6 separate regions of the Homo sapiens genome follow, and all the other regions are linked to region 1. Evidence: promoter capture Hi-C in 16 types of primary human blood cells and fetal thymus (Javierre and others, 2016). All regions are on one chromosome and are shown on one strand. The core of a region is centred on a gene start or on the middle of the fragment in contact, and the rest is flanking DNA. Distances in the headings are between cores, read along the strand shown. Region 1 holds the start of POLI (DNA polymerase iota). Region 2 has its middle 5.3 kb from the start of ME2. Region 3 holds the start of ELAC1 (elaC ribonuclease Z 1). Region 4 overlaps LOC107985152 (a long non-coding RNA gene). Region 5 overlaps SMAD4 (SMAD family member 4). Region 6 has its middle 39 kb from the start of MEX3C.

Region 1 (2,798 bases), core at 127-2,626:
AAAATGTAATAATAATAGAAATAAAGTGCACAACAAATGTAACGCACTTGGATCATCCCAAAACCATCCCCCTCCCTTCTGTCTGTGGAAAAATTGTCTTCCATGAAACCAGCCCCTGGTGCCAAAAAGGTTGGGAATGGCTGCTTTAAAGGGTTTCTCAAGGTTCTAATATTTTATTTGATAAGAAGTAGAATCATATAAAAAACCAAACATATGTGTTAATTTGGGTATTTATACAGATATAGTGTATATACATACATACAGGCATGGAGGAATTTCCAAATTTCCTCTATTGTAAAACATACACATACACACACCAACACACACATGCACACATGGTATCCTAATAGAAGGCAAGGAGAATAGACATTTACTGAGCACTTCCTATGTGCCACATGTTTTATATACATTAGGATATTACAGTATATGGTAGCTTTTATCCATTCATTCAATCTCAATACTTTTTTTTTTTTTTAAGAGTAGAGCAACTGAGGCTCACAGCAGTTATGTAACCTGCCCAAAGTCACACAGCATGATGGAGGGTCTGGATTGGAGATTTTGTCTGACTACAACACTCATGTATCAAATCCTATTCAGTTTTGATGTTAAAAATTCTGTGGTTGAATTCGTCACAGTGTCTTTAAATAAAACAACAACAAACAAAACACAGCAAACCTTAACATAGTTGCTAATCATATGAGTTTACAAGGCCACCTGTGTCTTTACTATCAGTTACACTCCTTCCCACCCCATCACATTAATCACTCAGGTCTAGGGATTTGCAAGTTTGCTAACAGCCGAATGGAACAAAGACAAAACGCTAAAATTTGTGATGTGGGCCTAACTCCAAAGCCTTCAAGAAAAAAAAAAAAAGGCCAGGCGCAGTGGCTCATGCCTGTGATCTCAACACTTTGGGAGGCCTAGGAGGGTGGATCACCTGAGGACAGGAGTTCGAAACCAGCCTGACCAACATGGTGAAACCTCGTCTCTACTAAATACAAAAAAATTAGCTGGGCGTGATGGCGCATGCCTGTTAATCCCAGCTACTTGGGAGGCTGAGGCAGGAGAATCGCTTGAATCCGGGAGGCAGAGGTTGCAGTGAGCCGGTATTGCGTCACTGTTGCCCACTCCAGCCTGAGCAACAAGAACGAAACTCCGTCTCAAAAAAAAAAAAAATAGCCATTTGTGCTTTCAATCTCTCCGCTTCCGGCCTCCACCCGGCGGGAAAAAACTCCCGCACGTGGGCCTCCACGATTCCTTGGCATGCGTGTCACTCTGGGCAACAGGCTGGTCGGCCACGACTGCGCAGGCGAGAGGCACAGAGCGACTGGAGACTGTAGTCCCCCGGTTTCCCTGGAGACCAGGCGGAAGCGGCCGGAAGTAGCGCTGCGGTTGGCAGCGGCGGGATGGAGAAGCTGGGGGTGGAGCCGGAGGAGGAAGGCGGCGGCGACGACGACGAGGAAGACGCCGAGGCCTGGGCCATGGAACTGGCGGACGTGGGGGCGGCAGCCAGCTCGCAGGGTGCGCCGCAGCCAGAGGAGCCAGCGGCCTCCTTGGGTGTAAATGAGAAGGGTGGGGCAGGCGGACGCTCGGGGCGGCGGCCACTGGGGCGCGACCGTCCCCGCCCCACTCGGCTCCTCTAAGAGAGGGCTGCCTCCCTCTGCCTTGTGTTACGCGGCGGGTACCTCTAGAGGAATGGCTTCACCCAGCAGGAGTAGGGTGGGGCGCGTCCACACTACAAATACGTGTCGAGGGTTTATCTGCGCCGTCCTTTCCTCTGTGAGGGGCGAGGTGGGGCGGGAATCCCTCAGCCAGCCCGACGAAAACTGCAGAGGCTTCTGGGCCTTTTAACTTTGGAGAAGTTGAGGACCTTGTCGCTCATTTGGCAGAAGGTGGGACCCGGATCTCAGTCCTGGCAGGAAGGGATGGCTCAGAACCTAGGCGGAGTCAGGTCCGCTGTGGTCACGTCTCCGGTGACCCACTTCCAGCTCTGGTCTTTACCTTGTACCGCCCACCTCAGGGCCTGGATGTAAAGGCACCGGTTCTCATTTCCTGCTGGTTTTGTTTCATTCATTAATTTAGAGACAAGGTCTCCCTGCAGCCTCGAACCCCTGGGCTCAAGTGATCCTCCGCCCCAGCCTCTCCGTCCCGAGTAGCTGGGACAGCAGGCACGTGCCACCACACCTGGCTGATTTTCAGATTTTTTTAGATCAGGTGTAGCTGTGTTGTCCAGGCTGGTCTCAAACTCCAGCCACAAGCGATCCTTCCACCTCAGCTTCGAAAAGTATTGGGATTACAGTAGTTAGCCATCGTGCCTGGCCTTTTAAATTTTGGAACTTTAGGTTTACCTGAAAGTTGCAGAGCTAGATCCCCCTAGTGTTAACATAAACTCAGTACATTTGTCAAAACTAGGAAATTAACATTGGTATAATACTATTAATTGAACTACACGCTTTATTAATATTCTACCAGTTTTTCTGCTAACGTTCATTTTCTGTTCCAGGATCCCAACCAGAATATTGTATTGTATTTTGCCTGTCTTGTTTTTAGCCAGTGTTGAGAGAAGGAGTCGCCTCTGTCATTCCCTCCCCGACAAATAATGACCTAACAACTTTTTAAAATCAAAGAACTATTCAGTCTTTCAATTTAGTGAATATTTATTGGTGGTCTGTTATGTCCTAGACACTGTTTTAGGCACTGGCGATTTAGCATTAAACCAGATAATCCTGCTGCCATGGGAGCTAAAAATAGCCCACACTTGTACCCACTGGTTGTCTTTTGCCATTTTGTATTTCAGT
Region 2 (2,798 bases), core at 221-2,720, 3.4 Mb before region 1:
ATCGGAACATTCTTGTTTTATTGGTATAAGGTAGGCATCAATTTGTTTAAAGCTCCCTGGTGATTCCAGTGTGCGTTTACATACTATTACACCAGTGTTCACTGAAGAGCTGAGATTAGAATTTGTCCTTGAATTACGAAGCAGTTTTTAATTGACAGCTTACAGCGGGGAAGTCTTTCCCAGGTTGGGGAGTGGGGTGACATAATGCTCCAAGCTTACTTTCAAATCTTTCCAAGACACTGAACTGTACATAAACATATTTTAAAATATTCAGTCTGTACAGTGTAGTTTGTATCCTCTTTCCACTTATTAGTGGTACCCTTGGATGAATCAACCTCTAAGTCCTCAGTTTTCCCATATGTAAAATGGGGATAATAATTATACCTACCAGCTGGGCACAGTGGCTCATGCCTGTAATCTCAGCACTCTGGGAGGTCAAGGTGGGAGAATAGCTTGAGATCAAGAGTTCAGGAGCAGCCTGAACAACATAGCAAGACCTTGTCTCTACTAAAAATAAAAAACATTAGCTGGTTGTGGTGGTACATGCCAGTAGTCCCAGCTACTTGGGAGGCTGAGGCAGGAGGATTGCTTGACCCTGGGAGATCAAGGCTGCAATGAGCTACAATTGGCACTGCACTCCAGCGTGGGTGACAGAGCAATACCCTATCTTGAACAACAACAACGACAAAAACAGGAGTGGCACGGTGGCTCATGCCAGTAATCCCAATACGTTGGGAGGCCAAGATGGGAGGATTCGTTGAGTTCAGGAGTTCAAGACCAGCCTGGGCAACATGGCAAGACCCCAACCCCATCTCTAAAATAAAATAAAGAAAGAAACAGAAATAATTATACCTACTTGATAGCGTTGTTAGGATAATTAAATAATTTTAATATATACATGAGGTGGGCGGGGTACAGTGGCTCATGCCTGCAATCCTAGCACTTTGGGAGGCCAAGGGTGGATCACCTGAGGTCAGGAGTTCAAGACCAGCCTGGCCAACATGGCAAAACCCTGTCTCTACTAAAATTACAATAATTAGCTAGGTGTGGTGTCACACACCTGTAATCCCAGCTACTCAGGAGGATGAGGCAGAAGAATTGCTTGAACCTGGGAGGCAGAGGTTGCAGTGAGCCAAGATCATACCACTGCACTCCAGCCTGGGCAATAGAGCAAGACCCTGTCTCAGAAAAAAAAAAGTAAAAATAAATAAAATACACTAGGTGCCTTAGAGCAACGCTTAGCAAATAGTAAGTACTCAATGAATGGTAATTATTATTTATCAAACATCATCTATATGCCAGGCAGACAGCCTGCATGAGAATACTTTGCATCTGTATCCTTTTAATATTCACAAAACTCTTGCATATTTTGTGTCTCATTCCTCTTTTCAATGCCCTTTGAGATACATAGGGAAAGTTTAATTGTGTCCACCTAACCGGAGAAAAAGACATCCAGCCTCTTATTAAGACAGTGTGAGAGCTAGCCCTAGAATTCAAGTATTCCACACTCCCAAAGTGTGCTTTTTCCTTCGATGTAAATAAGTAAATGAACAAAATAAAACAAAAGCAAAAAGAAAAAATTTGAAGAACTGAGGCATTTGTCCAGATAATTTTCAAACATCCCCTCCATGCCTTCCACTCCCACCCCATAGGAATCCAAACAACCTTCCTTCTATCATTCCCTGATTATCTATAATTGGGGTGTCTAATTTATGGATAACTTATACTCTGCTTGGAGTTATATTTCTTGCTCAGCCATAGTTCTAGTCAAAAATTGTCAGGTTTTATCTTCATTTACTGGAGAGACCCTGCATTTAGAAGAGATTCTTTCCTTCTCTCAAGGATTATCCAGAAAGTGATTGAGCCATGTTTAGCCTTAAATCCTACCCTCACATTTTTGTGAAAAAGCCCATATTTGTATAAATCAACTCTAATTGGGTTTTCTGTTGTTGGGAGCTAAAAATCATTTCTAACAGTTACTGTTAAAATGCACAAAAATCTTGTTCCTGTCGTAATATCTTCATTTATATTTCCTCCTTTAGAATAGCTCATTAACTCTTATTAGGTCAAATTGAGGATGTCAAGTATAAACTACTAGTAGTAGATTAGTAATAATAGTAGTAAGGATAATCATAGTACTGTTTTGATTCTGTGTGCCCTGACCTACTATATATTAGACCTTAACATTCATTTTTAAAAACTCTATACTTGAAAAATAACTACACACTTACATTATTTCTGGAGACCTATGGATGTATATAATTCCCCTTGGTCTTTTAACTGATGAGACATCTTAGTGTCTCACTATAACTATTACTGGATCAAAGTAGCTTTTTTTTTTTGGAGACAGGGTCTCACTCTGTCACCTAGGCTGGAGTGCAGGGATGCGACCTCAGCTCAGTGCAACCTCCGCCTCCTGGGCTCAAGTGATCCTCCCACCTCAGCCTCCCAAGTAGCTAAGACTACAGGCATGCCCCATCAGGCCTGGCTAATTTTTTTTTTTTTTTTTTGTAAAGATGAGGTTTCACCATATTGCCCAGGCTGGTCTCAAACTCCTGTGCTCAAGCAATCCACCCACCTTGGCCTCCTAGAGTGCTGGGATTACAGGAGTGAGCCACCTCACTCAGCCCAAAATAGTATCATTTAAAGATGAAATAGCTCAATTCAAGCAAGAATGCTGGACAGATAGGGGATAAAAGGTAAATGCAAGAAAGCACAGTATTTTTCAAAGCTTAAGATGATCATGCAGAAAATTCACAACCAGTTGCAGAGTAATGACTACTTTATTTAACCCAGGA
Region 3 (2,798 bases), core at 173-2,672, 3.3 Mb before region 1:
AAAAATAGCTGGGTGTGGTGGCTTGCCTGTAGTGCCAGCTACTTGGGAGGTTGTAGTCCTGTAGTCCCAGCTACTGATACTTGGGAGGCCGAGGTGGGAGGATTGGTTGAGTCCAGGAGGAAGAGGTTGCAGTGAGCTGAGATCGCGCCACTGCGCTCCAACCTGGGTGATAGAGTGAGACCCTGTCACAAACAAACAAACAAACAAAAACCCAAAACCAGGGACCATGACAAATTTTTAAAATCTCTCAGCCCCAAAAATAATACTATCCACAAAGTCAGAGCTCCATTAATACTGGAATAAAGGTTAAAAGAGCCCAATAAGTAGAAGTAGATGAGTTAATGATTTTTAAACAAGTGGCAGTCTCTCTGTCCTGGTAGTTTCAAGAAACACCACTCCGATTCCTATTTTGAAGCTGCTGGATTTTTTTTTTTTTTTTTTTTTTTTTTTTTAACAGAGTCTCGCTCTGTCGCCCAGGCTGGAATGCAGTGGTGCGATCTTGGCTCACCGCAACCTGCACCTCCTGGGTTCAAGCGATTCTCATGCCTCAGCCTCCCGAGTAGCTGGGACTACAGGCGTGTGCCACCATGACCGGCTAATTTTTTTTTTTTTTTGTATTTTTAGTAGAGACGAGGTTTGCCATGTTGGCCAGGTTGGTCTCGAACTCCTGAGCTCAGGCAATCCGCTCGTCTTGGCCTCCCAAAGTGATGGGATTACAGGTGTGAGCCACGGCGCCCGGCCAGCTGCTGGATATTTTGACCACCTCAAGTACGCTGAGCACGAAATCAGTGCATCTGGCAGTACACAGGAGCTTGAAATACTTTTTTTAAAAGTTGTTATTCAAACTGAAGGAGTTTTTCCCTGTGGTCTGTAATCGCCACGTGCCCGTTCTGTATACAGCCAGCCTGGGTTTTTCAATCCCACGTCCGCTACCTAAGAGAACACCAAGGCTTGGAGTGAGTATGGCACAATCAGCTTCAGATGTTAAGCAAATATTCCAACCTAGAGTAGGAAAATGGAATATGGACGGGGCTTTATGAAGGTGCATGGTCAGGCAAAGGATCTTAGTGGATGAAAGACAGTAAAGATTCATCCCAACCAAAGACCAAAAATGACACATATGTATGAGCAAAACATCAGGAAGAACACTCTTATGTGGAAAATATTACACGGAAAACAAAAGAAGAGTAACTTTTTCCCTTTTGGTTTATCCCGCTCTGGTCCTCAGGGCGATAGCTACCACCTGACACACAGCGACCTGGGAAAGAGGGAAACTCAATCACTGCCCTCGCGGCCCGGGGGGAGCCCGGAAGCGCGCCCAGAGCCAGGTCCCGCGCGGGCGCCACCGAGCGCGGACCTCCCTCGCATCCTAGAGCGGCCGCGCGGGACCCGGCCGGCGGCGCACTTCCGCCCGGGCGCATTGTAGCCCCGCGGACAGCTGGGCCAGGGTGCGGGCCTGCGCCTCCCTCGGCTCCTGGCGCGGGCCTCGGGGAGAGGGTGAGTGCGGTAGGGCATACCAGAGGGGGGCGGGCGCGCTTCCTCGGGACTCGCCGGCTCGATCAGGCACGGCCCGGCGCTGGGGACCTAAGCCTGGGGAGCGCCCGGGAGCGAGGACGCGCCTCGTTCACCGCCCCGGGCCGGAGTCTCGGCGGGCCGGAGCCTCGGCCGCCCGGCGCCGCCGCCCACCCAGCCTTTTTCGAGGCCAACACGGTCTCGTGGGGGAGCCTGGGCTCTCTGGAGGCCGGAAATCTGGCCTCTGGCCCTGCCTGTGCCTTGGCCTCTTACTCTCTGCCGCCCGGCCTCGGTTCTTTCAGCTCTAAGATGGAGGACAGCGATATCTGCCCTAGGCACACCACAGGGTGATTGCAGGGTTGACACTGCCTGCCTGAAAACGAAGGAGCGCCGGTTCTCAACCCGGCAACCAGTAGAATCGCTTGGGAAGCCTCCAAATGCTGATGCCCCATCATCACCGGGGAATTGTGATCTGCGGCCAGGACCGAGATCCACGGGCCCAGAGTGAAATGACAGTACTGTGATCACGACTGGAATATGCACTTCGCCGAACGTGGATCACAGTCTTGAGAAAGCAAGCAGCTGGGTTTTTGTTTTGTTTTTTTTCCAAGAAGACAGGGACCTAATCTGGTTTGCTCGCATTTAATTCCTAGTGCCTAGAATGGTGCATGTCCCAAAACATGCACCATTGATTAAATAATTTCTGATTACTTCCCGACCTATTTGGAGGGTTTTCATTATATTTGTTTTAAAATTATTATGGAAACCTTCAAGTCATATATGAAAATTGAATAGTAACTGAACTCCCAATTCATGATCAATTCTGTTTCATCTGTTACCCTCTCCCCCACTGTAGTATTTTGAAGCAAATCTGAAATGTACCATTCCATCTGTTACCTTGTTCATGTTTATAAAACACAATAACACCTTTTTAAAACATAAAGCCATTATCAGTGTACTTAGCACTTCATTTTACCCTCTACTATCCAGTCAGCATTTACATTTTCCTAGTTGTCTCTTTCCTCTTACCCAGTTTGTCCAAATCAGTATCCAAACAATCTACACACGTTATATTTGGTTGATGTCTCTTAGATCTCTCTTAATCTTTTTCTCTTGCTCTTTATTTTGTTCCCTGTATTTTACTTGAACAAGTCATTTGTACGGTTCACGTTTTCTACAACCAGGATTTTGCTTTTTCCATCTCTGGTATCCTTTAATAAGCAGGTATTTAGACCTGCAGACTTGTTCAGGTCAGGTTCGATTTTTTGGCAAGAGAACTTAATGGG
Region 4 (2,798 bases), core at 121-2,620, 3.2 Mb before region 1:
TTTCCATTCCACTTACCCCTCAATATTTTAATATAATATTTTAAGCTGGAGAGTCTTTTATTGATCAACCTATCATATTTCCCTACAAAAAAATTTTTTTAAAAAAATTCTTGACTGAGTCTGATAAGCTTAAAAAGCTCATTTTGATTGTATAATTTTAATATCTAATTGATCTAAACAACATAAAATATTACATATTTTGGTATCTATTAAAATTAAAGGATATTTTTGCTGAATGAAATAGAATTGGGTCAAACCTAATCCTAGTTTTCACTTCTATGGATAGAAGCACAAACACCTTGTTCATTCATTCAACAAATATTTATTGAGCACCTCCTACGTGTCAATAGCTACTCTAGGCACTTGGGATACACTGGTAAACACTACAGATAAATCCTTGCCCTCATGGAGCTTACATTCTAGCGGGGGGTAATAGGCAATAAACAATAAACACAACACATAAGTAAATCATATAGTATGTCAGAAGTGCTATAGTAAAACAGAAAGCAGGGTAAAGGGGCTTTGGGTGTACTGTGAGAGTTAAGAATGGGCTGTGATTTTTAAAAGGTCAAGATAGGCTTCAATGAGGTAACTTTTGACCAAAGGAGGTGAGAGAGTTGGCAATGCAGATATCTGGGGGAAACATGTACAAGGCAGAGGGCACAGCCAGTGCAGAGGCCCTAACTTGGGAGCATGGCTGGCATCTTCTAGGGACAAGAAAAGAGGTCGGGAAGGTTAGGACATATTGGAGAATGACTGATAGGAAATGAGATTAGAGAAGTAATGCTCAGGGTGGAGTGGTGATGCTGATCTTATAGAACCCTTTAGACTATTGTAAGGATGTAGATTTTTACTCTAAATGAAATGAGGATCATTTAATGCAGGGATTTAAGCAGAGTGCAGATGTCTGACTTTTTTTTTTTTTTTTTTGAGACGGAGTCTTGCTCTGTCACCCAGGCTGGAGTGCAGTGGCGCGATCTCCACTCACTGTAAGCTCCGCCTCCTGGGTTCACGCCATTTTCCTGCCTCAGCCTCCCGAGTAGCTGGGACTACAGGCGCCCGCCACCACGCCCGGCTAATTTTTTTGTAATTTTTAGTAGAGACAGGGTTTCACCGGGTTAGCCAGGATGGTCTCAATCTCCTGACCTCGTGATCTGCCCGCCTTGGCCTCCCAAAGTGCTGGGATTATAGGCGTGAGCCACTGTGCCTGGCCCTGACTTCTATTTTAAAAGGATCTCTCTAGCTATTATGTTGGGAAGAGGCAAGCATGAGAACAGGGAGAGCTTTTAGAAGATGAATCCAAAGATGAGATGATGGTGGCTCAGACCAGGGAGCAGCAGTGGAGGTGGTTAGGGATGCTCTGTGGATTAGACATGGGTGTGAGAAAACGAGGGGAATCCAGAATTGCTGGACAGCACTAAGGATTTACTTGAGGTTCATGGTGATGAAATTAAAGTGAAACTGCTCAGGGTTTTTGGTCTGAACAACTTGAACAATAGAGTTATCAAATGAGATTGGAAAGCTAGTGGGTTCAACAGGTTTGAGGGAGAATATTGCTCAGTTTGTGACATGTTTGAGGATATCAGAATCTGGAGTTCAGGTAAGAGATCCGAGCTGGAGATATAAATTTAAGAGTTGTCATCATATATGATGATATTATATATCTTAGATGGTACTGAAAGTCAGGAGACTGGATGAGATCACGGAAATGAGTATAGATTAAAAAGAGTTCAAGGGACCAGGTGCAGTGGCTCATGCCTGTAATCCCAGCCCTTTGGGAGGCTGACGCAGGCAGATCACTTGAGGTCAGGAGTTCAAGACCAGCCTGGCCAGCAAGGCGAAACCCTGTCTACGGAAAAATACAAAAACTAGCCAGGTGTGGTGGTGGGCGCCTGTAATCCCAGCTACCTGGGAGGCTGAGGCAGGGAGAATTGCTTGAATCTGGGAGGCAGAGGTTGCAGTGAGCCGAGATCATGCCACTGCACTCCAGCCTGGGTGACAGAGAGAGACTCTGTCTCAAAAAAATAAAGAGTTCAGGGAATAAGCCCCAGTTAAGGGGTCTGAGAGAAGAGATGGAACCCAGCAAAGAAGACAGGGAAGGAGGAACCACGAATGAAGGAGGAAAACCAAGAGGATGTGGTTAAAAAAAGAGAATCAAGTGATGAGCTGTGTCAGCTGTTACAGATAAGATGAGAACCGAGACTAGATCATTGGGTTTAGCCAATGTGAAGTTCCTTGTTGGCCTTCACAAGAGTGGTTTTGATACGGTAGTAAGGATGAAAGCATGAATGGAGTTTAAGAGAGGATGGGAAACCTAACACTCAGCTGATGACCTAAAATACGCCACATGTGTACCTCGCATGTAATGATTCTACTACATATGTATGGAGTCTTAACATACGTATCATGCTTGACATGTTTTTGAACTTTGTATAAATGGTATTGTATGGGATGTATTCTGCTGTTGCAGAATGGGAGAAGAACTGCAGACAAAGTATAGAAAACTCTTTTAGAAGTTTTGTTGTAAAGGGAGTAGAGAAATAGGTGATAGCTGACAGTAGAAATAGGTCAAAGAGAAGAATCTGTAGGATTGGAAAAATCACAGCTGCTTGTAAGCTTATCAGAATGACCCAGTAGAGAAATACTGATAAAACAGAATAGGCGGATAATTGCTGGAGTGACAGTGAGGATCTTGATTAGGCAAGATAGTACTGGAATCTATGTCTTGGTGACAATACTCCTTTAGCTAGGAGCACGGCAATTCAACCATGTGAGGGTGGGGAAGGCAAAGTAGAGGC
Region 5 (2,798 bases), core at 140-2,639, 3.2 Mb before region 1:
TCCCCTCCTTGGCCCATTGCCCATGCCCCAGTCTAGGATCTTACCGCTTTTCTGGTAATTGTTTCCTAACTGGTTTTCTATTTCCTTTTCCAAAGCTGTTCTCCAGGCTCTCACTGAAGTTTTCTAATACAAATCTAATGCTGTTTTTTCTCCTCTTTCTACCATGAACCTACTCTAGACAAAGCTCTTATCCGTCTCTGCTTTTCCTCATCATTTTCCTTCAGCCTGGCAAATTCTTATTCGTATGTGGTAATCCATTAATACTATTCTACCAATATTCTGATGGCTGTCCCCTGGCACATGGTAGTATTGTGCTTCTTTGTCTCCCTCATCCCTACCTTGAAATTAGGCATGGCCCAGAGTTTCTTGCATTGGCACTGTTGACATTTTAGGCTGGATAATTTATTTTGCGTGTTGTCCAGTGCATTGCAGGGTATTTAGCAGCAACCATGGCCTTTAGCCACCAGATGCCCAGTAGTATCCAGTTGTGACCATATATTGCCTCCAGATGTTGCCAAGTGTCCCCTGAGGGACAAAGTTGCCCCTGGTTGAGAACTCCTGGCATGGCCTTATGACTTTGGCCAGTCAAACATGAGCAGAAGTGGTAGCCTTTAAAAGAAGATATATGAGCTGTCCTATCCCTTCTCCTGCCATTTAAGGACATATGTAGAAATGGAGCCTTTGTCAGTCTAATTTCTGAGCGATGACAGCAGTGCCCCCAGTTGATCTGTGATGAATGTGTATTATATCCTAAGCAGAAAATAAGCTTTTGTTTTAAGCTACTGATCTTTTGGGGGTTGGTTGTCACTGCAGCATAGACTAGCCAATCCTGACTGATACGTTGTGCCAAGACCTAGGTTACCTATGAACTTTCCATGCTCCCTCATTTATAGTCCCAAATCACTTTATACCTACTTCTTTTAGCATTTATTACTTATGTAATAATATGTTTGGGTCTTCCAGATTAGTAGTTCTCAGTGGAGTAAGTACTGCTCTTTAAGGGATGTTGTAGAAATTTGTGGATGGGTTTGGTGGATTGGTGGCCAGGGATGCCATCCTGCAATGTGAGAGACAGCGAATAATTATCTTGCATCCCACAAGACTTTCAGATGCCCCAGAAATTCATGTAGGAGGAAAATATAATTAGCCCAGAACCTAACTCTATAATATATATTCACTTTGCCAGGAGTTAAATTTCTTTTAATTCATTTTTTTCTTGCCTGCCTGCCTCCCTCCCTCCTTCCCTCCCTCCCTCCCTCCCTCCCTCCCTCTCTCCCTCTCTCTTTCTCTCTGTTTTCTTTCTTTTTCCTTCCTCCCTCCCTGCCTCCCTCCCTTACTTCAGGCTCTGTTACCCAGGCTGGAGTGCAGTGGCGTGATCTTGGCTCACTGCAACCTCTGCCTCCCAGGCTCAAGCCGTCCTCCCACCTCAGCCTTCTGAGTAGCTGGGACTATAGGCATGTGCCACCATGCCCCACTAATTTTTTGTATTTTTTGTAGAGAGGAGGTCTCACTTTGTTGCCAGGCTGGTCCTGGCAACCGTGCCTTTGTTGCCAGGCTGGTCCTGAGCTTAAGTGATCCAACCATGTCGGCCTCTTAAAGTGCTGGGATTACAGGCATGAGCCACTGTACCCGGACTTGGTTGTTTTGTTTTTTATTTTTGAGACCAAATCTTACTCTGTCACTTGGGCTGGAGTGCAGTGGCTCAGTCATAGCTCACCGTAGCCTTGGTCTCCTGGGCTCAAGCAGTCCTCCTGCCCCAGCCTCTTGTTAATTCATTTTCTTAGTTCAAGTTGTTTAAGAGTTCACCATTTGGGAAAATCCATGTTACTGACTGCAGTGCCATTGTGCTATTTGAGTTGCCAGTATAACACGTTTGTCTTGGAAGGTCTGAATTTGTAGCTGTCACATTTGTAATGATTCTGTATATAAGTGCTAGCATCTAACTTCTTTATTATACATTCTAACTTAGTTGGCATGCCTGAGTATTTATAGGTGGAAGTACACATTATATATTAAGCTTTTCCTCCTTTTTGTTATAGTTAGGGCATTGTTAAATTTTCAAAATATGTTTAAGTAGTTTAGAATTTTGTTTCAGTAAAGCTAAGGTGGTGATATAAATTATTTGTTGGAAAAAAAATGGGATGTTGGTCTGAGAGAGTCCAGACCCACTTTCTTACTATGGGCTTCCTGTTTTTGTATCTGTAGTGCTTTGTATATACAGTGTTTGTTGAATTGGTCAATTTATGTTTCCCACATTTCTTTTATGTACGTTGTTGCATCTAATTACCACAATAAATTTGTGAAGTTGTCAGGGCAGGTGTTTCCATTTTATAGATGAGAGAATTGAGAGAGATGTTAACATTCAGTCATGCGGCTAGACCTTTAATTAGAATATATAATTTTATTTATATCGATATTATGCTCTTGCCTACCATACTTCCATAATCTAGAACCATTTAATGTAGGAATACATCTCTTTATTCCTGCTAGTATTATTTTTTATATGCATAACTTTTAATTATGTTTCAGGCACTTGTGGTCATAGGAATACAATAAAGAGAGAGATGAGAAAGCTGTTTGTTTAAGAAAGCGAGGTCATTATCATTTGTATTCAAAGCAACTTGGTATTAAAACAAACTTTGAGATACCGTTAAGGCCCCAGCATAGCATAAATTTTAGAAATGATGACATTTGATGGTGAGATTGTGGTGAAATAGTTAACACTTAAACATTTTAATTGCATTGTAGATTCATACACATCTTTTGGAATATAATATCAGAAAATGACTTCAAAAGTG
Region 6 (2,798 bases), core at 134-2,633, 3.1 Mb before region 1:
TCTCTACAAAAAATTTTAAAATGAGCCAAGAATGGTGGCGTGCACCTGTAGTCAAACTACTTGAGATGTTGTGGTGGGAGGATCACTTGAGCCCAAGAATTAGAGGTTGCAATGACCTTTGATTGCATCACTGCACTCTAGCCTGGGTGACAAAGCAAGACAGCCTGTTTTTTTTTAAAAAAAAATGTTGCAAATTATGGTCAACCAACATCTTTTTGCCACAAACTTCAAACACAAAAAAAAGAATCTTTACAAAAATATACAGGGACACCACAAATTGGTGGTTACCTATAACATTAAACAAACTGGACTCTTCTTTTTTTTTTTTGAGATGGAGTCTCACTCTGTCTCCCAGTCTGGAGTGCGGTGCTGCGATCTTGGCTCACTGCAAGCTCCACCACCCGGGTTCATGCCATTCTCCTGCCTCAGCCTCCCAAGTAGCTGGGACTACAGGCGCCCGCCACCACACCTGGTTAATTTTTGTATTTTGTTTAGTAGAGACGGGGTTACAAACTGACTCTTAAAAGTGGCTTCTCCACAGCATATCATTTGAATTATTACCATTGCCTGGTACAGTGTTTTTAAAGTATTGTTACAACATTGTATTCCTGATTTTTTTTTTTTTTTGAGACAGGGTCTAACTTTGTCACCCAGGCTGGAGTGCAGTGGTGTGATCTCGGTTCACTGTAGCCTCGATCTCCTTGGCTCAAGCAATACTCCTGTTTCAGCCCCAAGTATCTGGTACTACAGGCGCACACCACCATGCCCAGCTAATATTTTAATTTTTGGTAGAGATAGGGGTTTCACCATGTTGCCCAAGCTGGTCCCAAACTCCCGGGCTCAAGAGATCTGCCCACCTCAGCCTCCCAAAGTGCTAGGATTATAGGGTGAGCCACCATGCCTGGCCAATTCCTGATAATTTAAGTAAACCAAACTATAAATAAATGAATGATATGTGCCTAAAAACAACCATAGTTTATATTATCAGTGGCCATTGGATTTAGGAGCAGTCCAATACCTTGATGTAGATTTTGATCTAGAACTAGACTTTGATCTTGACTGACATTTGGATATAAGTAGTTTTTTTTCTTTGATTCCTTTTCATATCTTGAGCCAGACTTATTTAATATGCTTTGGAATCTTATTTATTTATTTATTTTTACTTACTTTTTGAGACAGGGTCTTGCTTTGTCACCCAGGCTGGAGTGTAGTGGCACAATCAAGGCTCACTGCAGCCTTGACCTCCCAGTCTCAAGCAATCCTCCCACCTCAGCCTCCCAAGTAGCTGGGACTACAGGCATGCACCACCATGCCTGGCTAATTTTTTTTTTTTTTTTTTTTTTTTTTTTGTAGAGATGGCATTTTGCCATATTGCCCAGGCTGGTTTCAAACTCCTGAGCTCAAGTGATCTTCCAGCCTCAGCCTCTCAAACTGCTGGGATTAAAGGTGTGAGTCACTGCACCCAGCATGGAATCTGTTTTAGAGGTGCCTCTAGTTCTGGTGTGAGATGCAGACCTAGAATGTGATTTAGCCTTCACTTCTTCCTTGGGCTGCCTTGAATGAGATGTAGATCTTGAAAAAGATGGATTTTGGTGTTTGAATCCACCATTGTCGGAATGGCTTCTGCTACTCCGTGGTTTTCCAGTTGGTTGATTTCTAGGACTGTAAGATCTTCTATAATTGTAATCAAAAGACTGACTTCTGGATCTCCTTTCATAACTTTGGCTTCTAGAACTTCTGTATCTGTCATAACCATCATGGCGTGAAGAGCTGTACACATTCCTCTGTTCCTTGGATTTCATCTGATTTGGTGTCTTCTGATCCCCCTGTGTAAACTGTATTTCAACTTGATGTCCACAAATCTATTTCCTGTCCAAATTATGCAAAGCATCTTCAGCATCACAAACATCCTCAAATTGAACACAAGCAAATCCTCTTGGACGGTGGGTGTGGAAATCAAGTGGAACATAAACATTTCCTGTAGGACCATCATGACCAAATTTATCCTGTCTATCTGCAGACCTGGTGTCATTGGCCACGTTCCTGATGGACAGAGACATGTTTTGGAGGAGTGTGCAGGTAGTGGGACATGATGGTGGCGTGAGTCCAGGCCGGAGGCCCTAACAGACCAGGCAAACTGTCCATAGCTCTGCTGTTAGAAATTCGTATTTCTAACAAGTTCCTAGATGATGATCATGCTGATGGTCTGGGTACCACTAGTCTATAGAAATGACCACAGCCTGAATGAAGACAAGCTGAAGGCAGTGAGGCTACCTCTGCCCTTGTCAACCTTGCTCACAGGTGGAGACAAGGCTGTCACCTGAAGACTGATGATCTCTCCCCACAGCCTGCCACATGCCTGAAATTCACCCTCAGTGCCGGACTCCTTTGGACTCCTTAGCCTTAAACTTGGCTCTGCAACTGCCTCTAGAAACTAGAAGCAGTGTTAGCGAGCGGCGAGCAGGGATGCAGAGGGCAGGGACGGGGAGGAGGAGGGGTTTGTGATCCCACCTACCAGCCTCACTGCCGAGGGCACAGGCTTGGAAGCCTCAGGCTCTGATGTCAGAGAGAGCTGAGCTGGATTCCCTATGCAGCCGCTAGCTAGCTTTTGACTTCAAATCTCAAGAAAAAGACCTTATTATTTCTAATTCTCTTCCTGCCTTCTAAGAAGGGTGGGTCTTGGTAGCTGAAGGCTCTTGTCTGCTGGGCTCAGCACGGGTTGTGGGCATGTAAGCATGGAGGAGCTGGTAGCAGGAGCTGGGGAGTGGGAGGCTGCTGCGTAAAGGAAGAAGGAGGAA

The links. The method cuts DNA at HindIII sites, captures the fragments that hold promoters and counts their contacts. A CHiCAGO score of 5 or more calls a contact.
Region 2: a fragment that was not itself captured here is called in contact with the fragment with the promoter of POLI in region 1 in 1 of 17 cell types (naive CD8 T cells); the score reaches 5.9 in naive CD8 T cells.
Region 3: a contact is called between the fragment with the promoter of ELAC1 here and the fragment with the promoter of POLI in region 1, in 1 of 17 cell types (non-activated CD4 T cells). The highest score is 7.3, in non-activated CD4 T cells.
Region 4: a contact is called between a fragment that was not itself captured here and the fragment with the promoter of POLI in region 1, in 2 of 17 cell types (non-activated CD4 T cells and activated CD4 T cells). The highest score is 10.7, in non-activated CD4 T cells.
Region 5: a fragment that was not itself captured here is called in contact with the fragment with the promoter of POLI in region 1 in 3 of 17 cell types (total CD4 T cells, total CD8 T cells and naive CD8 T cells); the score reaches 8.9 in total CD4 T cells.
Region 6: a fragment that was not itself captured here is called in contact with the fragment with the promoter of POLI in region 1 in 1 of 17 cell types (non-activated CD4 T cells); the score reaches 6.0 in non-activated CD4 T cells.

What each region holds. Positions count from the first base shown.
Region 1 is chr18:54,268,141-54,270,938 of GRCh38, forward strand. It overlaps POLI (DNA polymerase iota), which reads left to right and starts at 1,377. Exons shown (of 10, transcript NM_007195.3): 1 at 1,377-1,521. The coding sequence starts at 1,407. It overlaps LOC124904307 (a long non-coding RNA gene), which reads right to left and starts at 1,765. Exons shown (of 2, transcript XR_007066379.1): 1 at 1,686-1,765. RefSeq lists enhancers at 739-888, 1,149-1,278, 1,809-1,858 and a silencer at 1,489-1,738. The HindIII fragment of the contact is 5,901 bases long and covers 1-2,798 here.
Region 2 is chr18:50,872,423-50,875,220 of GRCh38, forward strand. No RefSeq gene overlaps it. Among named protein-coding and RNA genes, the nearest start is that of ME2, 5.3 kb to the right of the region's middle. The HindIII fragment of the contact is 2,517 bases long and covers 213-2,729 here.
Region 3 is chr18:50,966,618-50,969,415 of GRCh38, forward strand. ELAC1 (elaC ribonuclease Z 1) reads left to right here and starts at 1,423. Exons shown (of 4, transcript NM_018696.3): 1 at 1,423-1,497. RefSeq lists an enhancer at 1,051-1,110 and a silencer at 1,261-1,750. The HindIII fragment of the contact is 7,484 bases long and covers 1-2,798 here.
Region 4 is chr18:51,023,067-51,025,864 of GRCh38, forward strand. All of the region lies in intron 1 of LOC107985152 (a long non-coding RNA gene), which reads right to left. Among named protein-coding and RNA genes, the nearest start is that of SMAD4, 5.7 kb to the right of the region's middle. The HindIII fragment of the contact is 2,488 bases long and covers 127-2,614 here.
Region 5 is chr18:51,041,061-51,043,858 of GRCh38, forward strand. All of the region lies in intron 1 of SMAD4 (SMAD family member 4), which reads left to right. Among named protein-coding and RNA genes, the nearest start is that of SMAD4, 12 kb to the left of the region's middle. The HindIII fragment of the contact is 1,251 bases long and covers 765-2,015 here.
Region 6 is chr18:51,157,294-51,160,091 of GRCh38, forward strand. It overlaps the pseudogene SRSF10P1. Among named protein-coding and RNA genes, the nearest start is that of MEX3C, 39 kb to the right of the region's middle. The HindIII fragment of the contact is 6,310 bases long and covers 1-2,798 here.